Regions from separate parts of the Homo sapiens genome. Here regions 2 and 3 are each linked to region 1. Evidence: promoter capture Hi-C in 16 types of primary human blood cells and fetal thymus (Javierre and others, 2016). All regions are on one chromosome and are shown on one strand. The core of a region is centred on a gene start or on the middle of the fragment in contact, and the rest is flanking DNA. Distances in the headings are between cores, read along the strand shown. Region 1 holds the start of MPHOSPH9 (M-phase phosphoprotein 9). Region 2 overlaps KNTC1 (kinetochore associated 1). Region 3 has its middle 57 kb from the start of MIR9902-1.

Region 1 (4,986 bases), core at 1,838-4,337:
CTATCTTGGAAACCATTAGGTTTTCAATTTTTGAAACTAAATTATCCTTTCTACACCTTGTTTCATTACCTTTCATATCTCCAGATCTTTTTCCAGTTTCTTAGGCAATGTTAGCTCCTTTTCCTTAACTTTTTCTGTTTTAAGTTTTTATTTATTTATTTTTTTGAGACGAGTCTCACTCTGTTGCCCAGGCTGGAGTGCAGTGGCACCATCTTGGCTCACTACAACCTTTGCCTCCCGGGTTCCAGCGATTCTCCTGCTTCAGCCTCCCAAGTAGCTGGGATTATAGGCACCAGCCACCACGCCCAGCTAATTTTTGTATTCTTAGCCCAGATGGGGTTTCACCATGTTGGCCAGGCTGGTCTCGAACTCCTGACCTCAAGCGATCCGCTTGCCTCGGCCTCCCGAAGTGCTGGGAGTACAGGCATGAGCCACCACGCCCGGCCAACTTTCTCTTTTTAAAAAGACTAGTCAAGTACAGTAGAGAAGGGGGAAAGAGTAGAACAAGAAGTTTGATCTGTGACTGTGAACAATTAATTAAGATAACTCACTACCAGGCCGAGCGCGGTGGCTCACGCCTGTAATCCCAGCACCGTGGGAGGCCGAGGCAGGTGGATCATGAGGTCAGGAGATCGAGACCAACCTGGCTAACACGGTGAAACCCCATCTCTACTAAAAATACAAAAAAAAAAAAAATTAGCTGGGCCTGGTGGCAGGCACCTGTAGTCTCAGCTACTAGGGAGGCTAAGGCAGGAGAATGGCGTGAACCTGGGGGGCGGAGCTTGCAGTGAGCTGAGCTCTGTCACACACACACACACAAAACTCACTACGTTTGGACCAGCCTGACTTTCTGTATTTGACGACTCCTCTCATTTTTTCTTTTGTCCCAAAAAGGCCTTCCTGCCAAGGATTGCGAGCTCTGTGGCCAACAGACCTGCGTTCAATGTCTCAATGCCACAATTTACTTACTGGGTAACTTTGGCTCTAATTCCTCATCTGTAGAATGGAGATACTACTACCTAGAGTGCGAACAAAATCATACATGTTGCCATAAATGTAAAGTACTTAGTGGTCACTAAATGGGAGCATGTCAGATCTCTCAACTACAAGGCTGAGGAACTTTGGAATGACACACCACATACACTGTTGTCTTATGACACAAACCCAGTCTGGGAACTGATTATTTCATCGGCCTTTGTTTTAGAGCTTAGGGTGAAAAGGCATCTACAACAGTGGCTTGTAAATTATTTTACTTGGTATGGTCCAATTTAAGAAGTACTTGATAAGCCATGACATTACTGAAAACATGTTATTTGGTGGGATCATAATTCTGGTCTGTGAAATCAGGTACTAAGGAGATCACTGTGATGCCAAAAATATAGCCTGACTTCCCAGCAGGTTCACACTGAAAGATAAAACCATCTTCAATGAAGTAAGTCCTGGTTTAAACATAAAATATCTTTTGGAATTATGTAATATAATTTAAAAAATCATGAAAGATAGGATAACATCAAATTTACCCTTTGAAAATTGCCAGGCGTGGTGGCTCATGCCTGTAATCCCAGCACTTTGGGTGGCCGAGGCAGGAGGATGACCTGAGGTCAGGAATTCGAGACCAGCCTGGCCAATATGGCAAAACCCCGTCTCTACTAAAAATACAAAAAATTAGCCGGATGTGGTGGCGGGCACCGGTATTCCCGGCTACTCGGGAGGCTGAAGCAGAAGAATCACTTGAACCCGGGAGGCAGAGGTTAAAGTGAGCCGAGATCGCGCCACTGCCCTCCAGCCTGGGTGACAGAGAGAGACCTTGTCCCCCCTACCCCCCTCCCCCACAAAAATAAAAAAAGTAAAAAAAAATTGGTAGGTATACTTAGGAAGCTCCAATGAGATGTAACGCCTCCTGGCAGATCTGTTATTCCAAGGGCAGATCCATTTCCTGGGTTGTGGAGGCCTAAGTGATAGTGCCAGGGAAGTCCCTTTACTGTGAGCCAGAACTCCTGGAGGTAAATCGAGTAGCTGGAAAGACCTTAAAGGTTAACTATGCTGAAGAATGTGGCCTGCACAGTGCGCATGAAATGGGCTGGGGTCCCACGGGGAGGAGAGCGAGTTCCCTTTGGTCCTTCAAAAGTAGGGCTGGGTGGCTTGCGCCTGTGATCCCAGCACTTTGGGAGGCCGAGGAAGGAGGATCGCTTGAGGCCAGGAGTTCGAGATCAGCTTGGGCAACACAGTGAGACCCCCCCACCCCACGTCTATTAAAAAAAAAACGAGTATCTCCGCAAAAGCCTAGCAAGGGCAGTGCTGACCTCTACTACGTGCCAGGCCTGAAACAGCACCTGATGCGTGCTCACAGCTCCATTCCGCTCAGTTTTGTACATGAGGATCCTTCCGTTTCGCCTTGGGCCTCCGTGGAACCGTTATCTCCAGGACGGTAGTCTCTCCTCTCCCCTGCCCTGAGTGCCTGAACAGCCCCAGGGCCGACCCACAGCACCTAGCGTAAACCAGGTCCCGAGAAAACTGAGCTCGGGTGTCACGGCCGGCCCCACCCCACCGCCAGCGCGGCCTCAGGTAAACTGGCTGCGCCACTCGGGGTCGCAAGTCGGGAAAAACCCAGGCGTCCCGGCTCGCAGTCCTCTCTCCGGAGCCTTTGACAGTCGTCGGCAGCCGTAGGGTTACCTGGCTTCTCCGCAGATGCTTACCTGGTCTCAGGACCCGACTCGTGCCCTCAACGTTCTAGGGATATCCAAATCACCTCAGCGGAGGATTCGCAATCGCGATCCCTGATCTGCGCACGCGCCGTACTCCGATCGCGGTTTCTCTTATCTACCAGAGGCTCATGTTTACTCACTGCGCATGCGAGAAACTGAAGCTTCTTTCCCTCGTGGCAGCGGCTGGCTCCCAGAGAGCCAATCAGAGAAGAGAGTTTCACAGCAATCCCGCCCCCTTGTCACTCCCCCGGGGTTGGATGTCTCTCTTTGGTTGGAGCTGCGCGAGGGGGAACGGCGAGGTGGACGCGCGCGCCATGCGAGGCTGTCTCCGCCTCCTTCCGGGCAGCCAATCACTGGAGAGACGCCGGGCGCGCGCGCGCTCCCTCGGGTAACGGTCGCGAGAGGCCGCTTGCATGACCCTGACATCGGCAGCGGGAGCGGCGGCCAGGTAAGCGGCCACCAGCCTGCAGGGAGCTGTAGGCCGCTGGGGACAGGAGACGAGACTTAGGAGACACTGTCTTAGCGGCCCCTTGAGTGTGGTGATGGGCTGGGGTGTGGGGTGACGGCTGCCGATTGGCCTGACCCCCTCGGAGCCCTTCGGCGTGTGGGAGCTCTGCCCGGCCGCGGTGCGCCTTTTCTAGACTCGGCGCCCTTGAGTGACACTCGCGCGGCCCAATCGCAGATCGCTCTTCCTGAGGGGCGGGGGGTTTGTGGGGTTTTTTTAATTTTTCCCCCCATTTTTTGCCAAGGTGCCCCGGTTTCCTTTTGGAATCGCGGTTGTAGTTGCAGGAGCGGTGGCTTTTCTCCGTCCTCCCTGCTTTCCGTAGCTTAGGCGACTGCATAGATTCTCCCTCTCCTTCCCACTTTGACCCGATAGCCGCCACCAGCCATTGCGGGCTGACTGTGAGCTCAGAATGTCGGGATCTGGCCTCATCCCCATCTGAAATCTCTTCCTCTCCCCCAAGCCTCCCGTCAAGGCGGAGCGCCCAGTTAACTTTCATGTTTCATAACCATCAATCGTTCCTTTTCCCCAGCTCCCTTTTTTTGCTAGGGGGTAGGGACACCAAAAGCGTCATATCTTGTTGCTGGGAAATATAAAAGCTCTGCTCTTATATTCATTCTGTATCAAGTTAAAAAAATTTTTTTTTGCATTGTATTTGTGGGTGTTTAAGGATTTTTCCCTCTTACTTCCCTGCCCTCCCCCCAGCACCTCCACCCCAAATGGAGAAGCATCTTTGAATTTCTAGTGGTTTTCCATCTGGATCTGCATCCGGATCCGGATTACCTTAGCAGGGGAAATAATAGATGGGGTTGCAGGTTCATCTCCCTGGAGAGCTTGTGTTTTCCTGGTGTAATAGCATGGTGATTGGAATCCAGGTATTTCTGTTGCCAGTTGGAAGGGGCAGTCCTTGACTGTTTCAATGCCCCATTTGTCGTGGGTGATGGGCTGAGCCACTGGGGAAAAGTCCATTTAGTTAGGTCCGGTTACCCTTTGCATTCACTCCTGTCCCTGAAGGAAATGGTCCCTGTTTTTGTGTAATGCTTTATAAAAGCAGGCCCTAGAAAGTGGGAATCTAGCAGAAGCGGAATACTAGATAATATTCCTGTTGCACTCTCTAAGCTTTTCAGTTTGTAAGCAGCTGAAGTTTTCTTTCTTTCTCCTTTTTCCTCTTGCTCCCTTGCTCTTTTATAAGTGCATGAATTCCCCAGGAAGGAGGCATCTTGTTTGACCTGTTACAGCCAATTTGCCATGGTATATATCCAGCTTCACTGAAATTTTAGTTGGCCTGGCAAATAATTTTTTTATTTTTATTTTTATTTTTTAAGAGATGGGGTCTTGGTCTGTTGCCCAAGCTGGAGTGCAGTGGCAGGATCATAGCTCACTGCAGTCTTGAACTCCTGGGCTGAAGTGATCCTCCCACCTCAGCCTCCAGAGTAGCTGGGACATGCTCCCAGTAGCTGCAGGCAGGCTCCAGTGTGCCCAGTGGTTTATTTTCTAAGAATAGCTGCACAGAGACAAAAGACCATATATATAGTTCAAAATGTACTTCCAGACAATGGGGAAGCTATGGTTGTTAACAGTTTAATTGGCTCTTTTTAATACAAATTAAATATTAAGTAGTTCAGTTCTTCTTGTCTCTGTATAAGTCAACAAACATATATACTTGGTAGAATTTATTAAACAAATGAACAAGGCATGCAAGTATTCCAATTGTTACATAATAGAATTATATCTAGAACTTTCATTGTAAAGCCTGGCAAAATGGTTTGCGCTATAATC
Region 2 (4,986 bases), core at 809-3,308, 700 kb after region 1:
AATCCATCCAGGATCCTAAGTAGAAAAACAGTTCAGGATGAGCAGGAAGGGCAAAGGATTCTCATGTTCAAGTCCTTGTTTCCTCAGGATTGACTTTATGCTGCAGGAGCCAGGTATTAACATAATGAATTAATCAAGATTGGAATAAAGTCTTGGTGTCGTGGATACGCTAGGCAGGGGAACGGTGGTGAACTGTGAACTGGAGGGTCCATGCCCCCACAGACATGAAAGAATAGAGTCTACTTCACACCAGCCAGTGGGAAGCCTGGTGGGGATGCAGCACTGGCATGGCCATACCTCCCAATTCATCAACAGAAGCTGGATCTTTATGTGAAATGTTCTGATTTTTAAATATTGGCAGCTAAGCCAACATTTTTAAAAACAGTAGACAAGCCAAATCAGAGTCTCCAGTATTCAGTTTCTGTTGCCAAGAGCCTCCCACACATAGCTGTCTTGAAGCACTGGGACAGATTAGTGGTTGAGGAAGCTCAGTCCCTTACTAGCTAAGTGATCTTAGGCAAATGCATCAACTAACTCCATGTAAAAGAGTAACAATAATAATACCTACAAGGTTCACCTGAATAAAGATTAAACGAATTCACGTAAAGGGCTTATGAGAGAGCCCTGCACATAGTATATGCTCAATAAATGTTAACCAGTCCTATTCTTCCCTGACAAAATACAGCTAATCACCTCATTTTATGACTATTTCAAAAGTCATCTTCTCCAGGTGTAATCCTTGAAAATTCCCCAACATTCTGATCCCTCTTCTACCTTATTTTTTTCTTTATTTTGAGACAGGGTCTCCCTCTGTCGCTCAGGTTGGAATGCAGTGATGCCATCATAACTCACTGCAGCCTTAAACACCTGGGCTCAAGGGATCTTCGTGCCTCCCCAACCCAAGTAGCTGGGACTACACATGCACACCATCACACCTGGCTAATTTTCTTTTTCTTTTATAGAGACGGGGTTTTCACTGTGTTGGCCAGGCTGGTCTAGAACTCCTGGACTCAAACGATCCTTCCATCCCAACCACCCAAAGTGCCGGGAATACAAATGTGAGGCACTGCGCCCAGCCTCCTTCTTATCTTTTTACTTGCTTCTTCAACTAGTAAAAGGTTACATGAAGGCACTGCCAACAAGGAATGGCACTAAAATTAGCCGGGCGTGGTGGCGGACGCATGTAATCCCAGCTACTGGGGAGGCTGAGGCACGAGAATCACTTGAACCCGAGAGGCAGAGGTTGCAGTGAGCCAAGATCACACCACTGCACTCCAGCCTGGGCAACAGAGCAAGACTCTGCCTCAAAAAAAAAAAAAAGAAAAGGAACGGCACTATATCTTCTAGGGATCTGTCCACACTGTTCTCTCTAGACTCTTCTCTCTAGACTGTTCTCCTTCTTAAGGCCCAAAGCAAGTGTAGTTTATTTTAATTTTTATTTTTTTTAGAGATGTTGTCTCCCTATGTTGCCCAGGCTGGCCTCAAACTCCTGGGCTCACGCCATTCTCCTGCCTCAGCCTGAGTAGCTGGGACTACAGGACATGCCACCACACCGGGCTCACACATAGTTTCTTAAGGAAATGCTCCTTAAACTGCCCAACCGACAATGAGCTCTCCAGCCACTGAATTCCTACTCATTTACTGTCTGTACTGTTCATTTGGCATTTAGCATATACTGACTTGCACAGCTAAGCATCTTTTATTGTTTGTGTCCTGTGTGCCTAACTTTAAGGTAAGATCCTAAAAGGAATGAATAAGATGCCATCTTATGTCCAAGTTCCTAATATTGGGCTCAGAACATAGCAGATGTTCAAAACATGTTGGTAAGTGTATGCCACGTGCTAATAATAGATAGAATTTTAGTTCCTACCAGAATCCAAGATTCTATACACATGCACTATTATTTTTCAACAGCAACCTTGAGGTCAAGAAAGGCCTGAGCCACTTCCACGTTTTAAGGCTCCTGATAATATTAAAAAATAAAGCCCGGGCACAGTGATTCACACCTGTAATCCCAGAACTTTGGGAGGCCGAGGTGGGTGGATCACAAGGTCAAGAGATCGAGACCATCCTGCTCAACATGGTGAAGCCTCATCTCTACTAAAAACACAAAAATTAGCTGGGTGTGGTGGCTCGTGTCTGTATTCCCAGTTACTCGGGAGGGTGAGGCAGAAGAATCGCTTGAACCCAGGAGGCGGAGGTTGCAATGAGCCAAGATCACGCCACTGCACTCCAGCCTGGTGACAGAGCAAGAGTTCGTCTCAAAAAAAAAAAAAAAAAAAAAGAAAAATTAGCCAGGCGTGGTGGCAGGCGCCTATAATCCCAGCTACTCCAGAGGCTGAGGCAGGAGAATCACTTGAATCCAGGAGTGGGAGGTTGTAATGAGTCAATATCACATCACTGTACTCCAGCCTGGGCTACAGAGTGAGAGTCTCTCTTAAAAAAAAAAAAAACAAATGGCCGGGTGCGGTGGCTCAAGCCTGTAATCCCAGCACTTTGGGAGGCCGAGCCGGGCGGATCACGAGGTCAGGAGATCGAGACCATCCTGGCTAACATGGTGAAACCCCGTCTCTACTAAAAATACAAAAAATTAGCTGGGCATAGTGGCGGGCGCCTGTAGTCCCAGCTACTTGAGAGGCTGAGGCAGGAGAATGGCGTGAACCTGGGAGGCAGAGCTTGCAGTGAGCTGAGATCATGCCACTGTACTCCAGCCTGGGCGACAGAGCAAGACTCCATCTCAAACAAACGAACAAAAATACTAAAAAATAGACGTCATTTCCTCATTATAGAAACTGTGCTTTCAGATGTCTCGAAGGATTCAAAAAATTTAAAAAAAAGAAATGCTGCACTTGAAATTTTTGCCTCTAATAAATAATGACAAAAAATACAATGAGATTTGTACTACTCATAATTAATGTTTATCTTATACTAATTATCTTATTGTTGGATTATACTGCCTTTAACATGATTCATGGTACATTTAAAGCGGTACAAATCAGGCACAGTGACTCATGCCTTTAATCCCAGCACTTTGGGAGGCCAAGGCAGGCGGATCACTTGAGGCCAGGAGTTCAAGACCAGCCTGGGCAACCCCATCTCTACTAAAAATACGAAAATTTTTAGTAGCATGGTGGCACACACCTGTAATCCCAGCTACTTGGGAAATTGAGACAGGAGAATTTTTTGAACCCAGGAGGCAGAGGTTGCAGTGAGCCGAGCCGAGATAGCACCACAGCAAGAAAAAGCAGCACAGTTCCACAGACACCAGCTTAAAGCTGCATAAAGAATGATTTCTTTTTAAAATCCCATCAGCCAGTTTAAAAAAAAAAGTCAAAAGCATACATTTAATTCCCTTTAGGAATAACGTCCACAGTGGATGCCCTGCCTTATCTGTCAGATTCCATTTGAGTGAAAAAAAATTTCTTTTATTAAAAAAAAAAAAGAATTAAATACCAGCCTCCCAAGTAGCTGGGACTACATGTGCATGCCACCACACCCAGCTAATAGTACCTTCTATAGAATGCAAAGAATAAGGTTTCAGGCATGAAGCAAGAATGGTGCAATTACTGACAGAAGAAAGTTAAAATGTAGAAAGAAATGCACGGATAAACCTCATACTCAGCAGGGTGCTTGACTCTGGTAGGAAACAGGAGGAACACAGATTCAGGGATGGACCCTCAGAGCCTTCAACTCTATTTGTAACATTTTATTTCCTAAGTCAGTCGTAGATATTCTTTGTATGCCGGGAGTGATGGCTCACACCTGTAATCCCAGCACTTTGGGAGGCTGAGGTGGGTGGATTTCTTGAGGCCAGGAGTTCAAGACCAGCCTGGCCAACATGGAGAAACCCCATCTTTACAAAAATACAAAAAATTAGCTGAGCATGGTGGCACACAACTGTAATCTCAGCTACTTGGGAGGCTGAGGCACGAGAATCACTTGAATCTGGGAGTCAGAGATTGCAGTGAGCCGTGATCACACCACTGCACTCCAGCCTGGGTGACAGAGTAAGAATCTGTCTCAAAAAAAAAAAAAAAAGATATCCTTTGTATCAACTTACACATATTTTTGTATGCATGAAATATCAAGAGGAACTAAGAATCCTTCAGTTGTGAAAATACTGATCCTGACATGATGCAGAGGGTATTCAGACGTGAATTTCTAGCAATCTGAGATTGAATCTTGATTCCCTGAGGAAGTGCTATGTTCATTCACAAAATATTTACTGTGGGCCACTAGCCCTACTAAGCACTCAGTAAAAATTCTGTGAATGAAACAGTCAGTGTAATAATCACTACCTTTTCAGAAGAGATCTTCACTAGCAAATCTACTTGATATAAAGCAGTTCCATGTTCTTTTCTTGAACCGACACTCAGGTACCCACTTCCGGTATCATCATTTGTTAGCAGCTCAATATCATTCCACATGTTTCTGAGACTGTCTTCCTGAGTCAGGAACCACTGTCTTTCCTGAACAACATAAAATTAGACACCATATTATCTTGTTGCATAGAACCTGGTTCCTTGGGAAATGATAAAGCTTACTCACAAAACAAAAACAAAAGTCTAACATTAACATATACAGACATCTTAGTCTTCTTGTTATTGCTGTGGCCACTAAACACTTCGGGCCAATAACATAAATGGAACTAGAGCTATGATGGTTACCAGAGAACAACATATTGGTTTATGCACACAAACCAACAATTCTGATCTTACCAATGTATCTTAGAGCTTCCATTACTTTGTGTGTCTAGTTTGGAATTATACCAAGTTTTCATTAGAAATAAACCTTTAATTATACCAAGTTTTCATTAGAAATAAACCTTTCATTAGAAATAAACCTTTAATAGCAGCAAACAGTGTAGGTTTAGATGCCAGATTGTCAGGGATATCATAGGATGATAAGATTCCAGATGAAGTTCAGAAAAAGTCCATTGATGCTATCATAGTATTATTATACAACAAATAAAAATGATAAGGGGAG
Region 3 (4,986 bases), core at 1,581-4,080, 590 kb after region 1:
GATTAGCTGGGATTACAGGCATGCACCAACCACGCCCAGCTAATTTTTGTATTTTTAGTAGAGACAGGGTTTCACCATGTTGGCCAGGCTGGTCTTGAACTCCTGACCTCAGGTAATCCACCCGCCTCGGCCTCCCAATGTGTTGGAATTACAGGCGTAAGCCACCGTGCCTCGCCAATTTTTGTATTTTTTGTAGAGACAGGGTCTCACTTTGTTGCCCAGGCTGGTCTCGAACTCCTGGGGTCAAGCAATTCTCCCACCTCAGTCTCCTAAAAGTGCCGGGATAGGCCAGGCACGGTGGCTCACGCCGCCTGTAATCCCAGCACTTTGGGAGGCCGAGGCGGGCAGATCATGAGGTCAGGAGATCGAGACCATCCTGGCTAACACGGTGAAACCCCGTCTCTACTAAAAATACAAAAAAATTAGCCGGGCATGGTAGCGGGCGCCTGTAGTCCCAGCTACTTGGGAGGCTGAGGCAGGAGAATGGCGTGAACCTGGGAGGCAGAGCTTGCAGTGAGCCGAGATCACACCACTGCACTCCAGCCTGGGCGAGAGCGAGACTCTGCCTCAGGGAAAAAAAAAAAAAAAAAAAAAGTGCTGGGATTACAGGCATAAACCACCTTGCCTGGCTTGAATTGCAGACTTTAAGTGAGTGAATTGTATGATATGTTATCTGTATCTCAGGAAAGCTGTTTTTTTTTGTTGTTGTTGTTTCTGTTCTTGTTTTTAAGACTTAGAAAGAAAAAGCAGTTCAGGCCGGGTGCGGAGGCTCTCACCTGTAATCCCAGCATTTTGGGAGGTCGAGGCAGGAGGATCACCTGAGGTCAGGAGTTCAAGACCAGCCTGGCCAACACAGCAAAACCCTGTCCCTACTAAAAATACAAAAATTAGCCGGGCGTGGTGGCAGGTGCCTGTAGTCCCAGCTACTCGGGAGGCTGAGGCTGGAGAATTGCTTGAACCCAGGAGGCGGAGGTTGCAGTGAGCTGAAATCATGCCATTGCACTCCAGTCTGGGTGACAGAGTGAGACTCTTGTCTCAAAAAAAAAAAAAAACAAAAAAAACTTAGCTGGGCATGGTGGTGGGAGCCTGTAGTCCCAGCTAATCGGGAGGCTAAGGTGGGAAAGTCACTTGAATCCAGGAGGCGGAGGTTGCAGCGAGCTGAGATCACACCATTGCACTCTGCCTGAGCAACAGAGCAATACTCCGCCTCAAAAAAAAAAAAAAAAAAAAAAAAAAAAAAAAAAAAAAGAACTCCATGCCATCAGGAGGGACCTTATCATGGTGTTCATCTTGCATCCCCCAACCCCAGAACAGTTCCTGGCACATAGCAGACTCTTAAGTAGTCATGAAATTAATGAATTTCAGCTACGCGTTTTCAGGGTAAAATCTCTTCCTTGGATGCTTCATGAGCACATGAACAAATGGCAGTGCCTCATTATACATAAGAAAAATGGGGAAAGTTAGCAACCGCTAAATACATGAAGACGCTCTATTTAATCCTCAAGACTCAAGGGCCTCCTTCCACCATCTCTTGCTTGGAATGAAGCAGCCAAATTCTTTTTCTCTATTCGGAGTAGAGAATGAATTAGTGGGGTGTTCTCATTCCACTTTGTGGTGATGGAAAACCTGGCTCAGTGAGACAGAAGATATTCAAGCTTCTTTCTGCTGTTTCTCCTTGGGCCCAGAGATTTGGAATACATTATCTGTGCTTAAATAAACACATTGGATCCCTCCCTTGGGTAGTTTTTAAGTTATTTTTGAGTAAGAGAATAAGACTGAATAATTTTGTTGATTGTTTCTATCCAGATGGGGGTAGCCACATAAGTATAAAGACGTGCTTAGGGTAATAGTTTCTTTTTCATGCAATGCTGGTGTCCCAGGAAGAAGAGACCAGTGACCCCAAGGTTTTTTTGCATGCTCCTCAGTGGAAACTTTTGAGCACATACTCCCAATATCTTTCAACATATATTATTTTAGTAGAAATATATATATTTTTTTGAGACAGAGTTTTGCTCTTTCGCCCAGGCTGGAGTGAAGTGGCATGATCTCAGCTCACTGCAACCTGTGACCCCCGGGTTCAAACAATTCTCCTGCCTCAGCCTCCCTAGTAGCTGGGATTATAGGCGTGCGCCAGCACACCCGGCTAGTTTTGGTATTTTTAGTAGAGACAGTGTTTCACCATGTTGGCCAGGCTGGTCTCGAACTCCCGACCTGAGGTGATCCACCCGCCTCGGCCTCCCAAAGTGCTGGGATTACAGGTGTGAGCCACCGCGCCCGGCCAATATTCCAGTGAGCTAGTCAATAAACAAGTAAATAAAGATAACCCTGGATGGCAGCAGGAAGACAGTGAATAGAGTGACGTCACAGCAAGGGACTGGGGATGTGGGATGGTGACTAGCTGGGCTGGTCGGGTAAGGCTAGAGAGAAGGCTGGTCTGAGATATGGCAGGAGTGGCAGGGGTTGAGGCTGGAAAGGCAGACTGGGCCTAGATCTTACCGACCTTATAAGCCACGGTATGGACAGGCAGGCAGCACCGAGCCATAAACGAAATCCAGCTTTTAAATCCAGCGCTTTTAAAAAACTTTGACCTTACCCAAGGGGGTGTCTTTTTATGTTAGATCTGCCCAAAGGAGGGGCTTTTTATAATCCATTTTCCTGGAGATGACCCCTGCTTCTAATTCGAACAGAAGGGAAGTGTTTTCTGCAACTTGGGTTTTATGCTTAGTGAAATGAGAAGCCAGTGAAAAGTTTGAGGCCAGCCACGGACAAGATCCGGCTTATGTTTTAAGAATATACTTAGGCAACAGTATGGAAAATAACTGTATGGAGACAAGGGTAGAATAATAAAAATAATGATGGCAATCACAGCTAATAGAAATATAATAAATAGAACAATGACAAGAAGGAACCTTGCTGTTTTTTCTGTTCTTTTTTCTTTTTTAGAGACAGGGTCTCGCTCTGCCGCCCAGGCTGGAGTGCAGTGGTGCGATCATAGCTCACTATAGCCTCAACCTCCTAGGCTCAAGCAACCCTCCCACCTCAGCCTCCCGAAGCTCTGGGATTATAGACATGAGCCACCACTCCCGGCCCCCATCCTGGCTCCAATCCTGGCTAACTGTATATTTAATCTTACTTTAAAACAAATTCAGGCTGGGCACAGGTGGCTCACACCTGTAATCCCAGCACTTTGGGAGGGCAAGGCAGGTGGATTACTTGAGGTCAGGAGTTCAAGACCAGCCTGGCCAACATGGTGAAACCTTGTCTCTACTAAAAAAAATTACAAAATTAGCTGGGCATGGTGGCCGGCTCCTGTAATCCCAGCTACTCGGGAGGCTGAGGCAGGAGAATCATTTGAACCTAGGAGGGAGAGGTTGCAGTGAGCTGATATCGCGCCACTGTACTCCATCCTGGGCGACAGAGTGAGACTCCGTCTCTAAATAAATAAATATAACAAATTCAAATAACAGTTATGATCCAAAAAAAGTGACTTCTCCAACATGTTGAAAGCTAACCCTTTATGTATCAGAACTTTATTCTGAACAAGAAACCAATGTGGGCATTGGAAACACTCCTTCTTAGCTTAGCTCCAGAGTCAAAGAAGCGTGACAGTCCATCACATCTGTTAAGTTCTAGTGCCACCACCTGACCTCTTCTGGGCCTTGCACGCTTACGCCCAAGAGGACAATTCCAGACTCCATCTGCGACTGCAGCCTTCTAACTGGTTCTCTTAAGGTTCAATCACACAAATAAAGAAACACCAATGTGAACAGTGAGATGCCGTTTTAACCTATCAGATGAGCAACATGGTTTGAGGACATAGTAAAGTGGACGTGCATCCGCTGCTGGTGGGAATGGGGATTTGTGAGGAAGACCTTTTGAAATGCATGCAGTGTGGCAATTTGCAACTGGAGGCTTTAAAATGTTCCCTTCATTCCCTTGGATCTGGCAAATCTGTTCCTGGGAATGTATCTTAAGGGAATAATTCCAAATATGGAAAAAGCTTAGTGAAAATATATTAGCACAGTCTAAGTGTGCAGAATAGCTCCAGGGGGTGACCTAAGAGTTTTGAGGATTTGCTGTGGGCTGAGGATTGCCTACATCTATCATCTCATCTGATCCTCACAGAAACCACTGAAGCGGGTATATTATCCCCATTTTATGGATAAGAAAAGGGACTCAGGGAGATTACAAAATTCAGTCCGACTCATAAACCTATACACAGAAGCAGAATTAGAACCTGAGCTTGCATGGCTTTTCATTAAAAATAAAAAATCATTAAAAATAAAAACACTATTACTAAAAATAATATTTTAAAAAGTTTATAGTGGCAGAGAAAAGAATACAAAGTAAAAAATTGTACCTGCAGTAGGCTCATGATTTTATAAAACCATGTGATGCAGAGAAATAAGAAACAAAATGCAACCTGCCAGAGGAACTGATCACACCCTAAGTGTTTGTGTTTTCCATACATATCTTTTTTTCTTTGGCACAGGGTCTCTGTTGCCCCGGATGGAGTGTGGTGGCATGATCACAGCTCATTAAAGCCTTGACCTCCTGGGCTTAAGCGATCCTCCCACCTCAGCCTCCCAAGTAGCTGGGACTACAGGTGCACAACACCATGCTCGGCTAATTTTTTTTTTTTTTTTTTTGAGACGGAGTCTTGCTCTGTCGCTTCTGTCGCCCAGGCTGGAGTGCAGTGGCGCGATCTCGGCTCACTGCAACCTCTGCTTCTCCTCAGCCTCCCGAGTAGCTGGGACTACAGGCGCCCACCACCATGGCGTGTTAGCCAGGATGGTCTCAATCTCCTGACCTTGTGATCCGCTCGCCTTGGCCTCCCAAAGTGCTGGGATTACAGGCGTGAGCCACCGTGCCTTCGCCACGCCCAGCTAATTTAAAGCTGAGGCAGGAGAATTGCTTGAACCCGGGAGGCAGAGGTTGCGGTGAGCCGAGAACGCGCCACTGCACTTCACGCTGAGCGACAGAGCA

The links. The method cuts DNA at HindIII sites, captures the fragments that hold promoters and counts their contacts. A CHiCAGO score of 5 or more calls a contact.
Region 2: a contact is called between a fragment that was not itself captured here and the fragment with the promoter of MPHOSPH9 in region 1, in 2 of 17 cell types (megakaryocytes and erythroblasts). The highest score is 5.2, in megakaryocytes.
Region 3: a contact is called between a fragment that was not itself captured here and the fragment with the promoter of MPHOSPH9 in region 1, in 1 of 17 cell types (M2 macrophages). The highest score is 5.0, in M2 macrophages.

The regions. Positions count from the first base shown.
Region 1 is chr12:123,231,242-123,236,227 of GRCh38, reverse strand. MPHOSPH9 (M-phase phosphoprotein 9) reads left to right here and starts at 3,087. Exons shown (of 24, transcript NM_022782.4): 1 at 3,087-3,153. MTRFR (mitochondrial translation release factor in rescue) reads right to left here and starts at 2,792. Exons shown (of 3, transcript NM_152269.5): 1 at 2,697-2,792. RefSeq lists an enhancer at 3,075-3,314. The HindIII fragment of the contact is 1,460 bases long and covers 2,869-4,328 here.
Region 2 is chr12:122,529,505-122,534,490 of GRCh38, reverse strand. KNTC1 (kinetochore associated 1) reads right to left here. Exons shown (of 64, transcript NM_014708.6): 2 at 4,299-4,500. The coding sequence starts at 4,427. Among named protein-coding and RNA genes, the nearest start is that of KNTC1, 4.7 kb to the right of the region's middle. The HindIII fragment of the contact is 4,966 bases long and covers 1-4,541 here.
Region 3 is chr12:122,636,655-122,641,640 of GRCh38, reverse strand. No RefSeq gene overlaps it. Among named protein-coding and RNA genes, the nearest start is that of MIR9902-1, 57 kb to the left of the region's middle. RefSeq lists an enhancer at 2,664-3,564 and a silencer at 3,632-3,701. The HindIII fragment of the contact is 2,345 bases long and covers 1,658-4,002 here.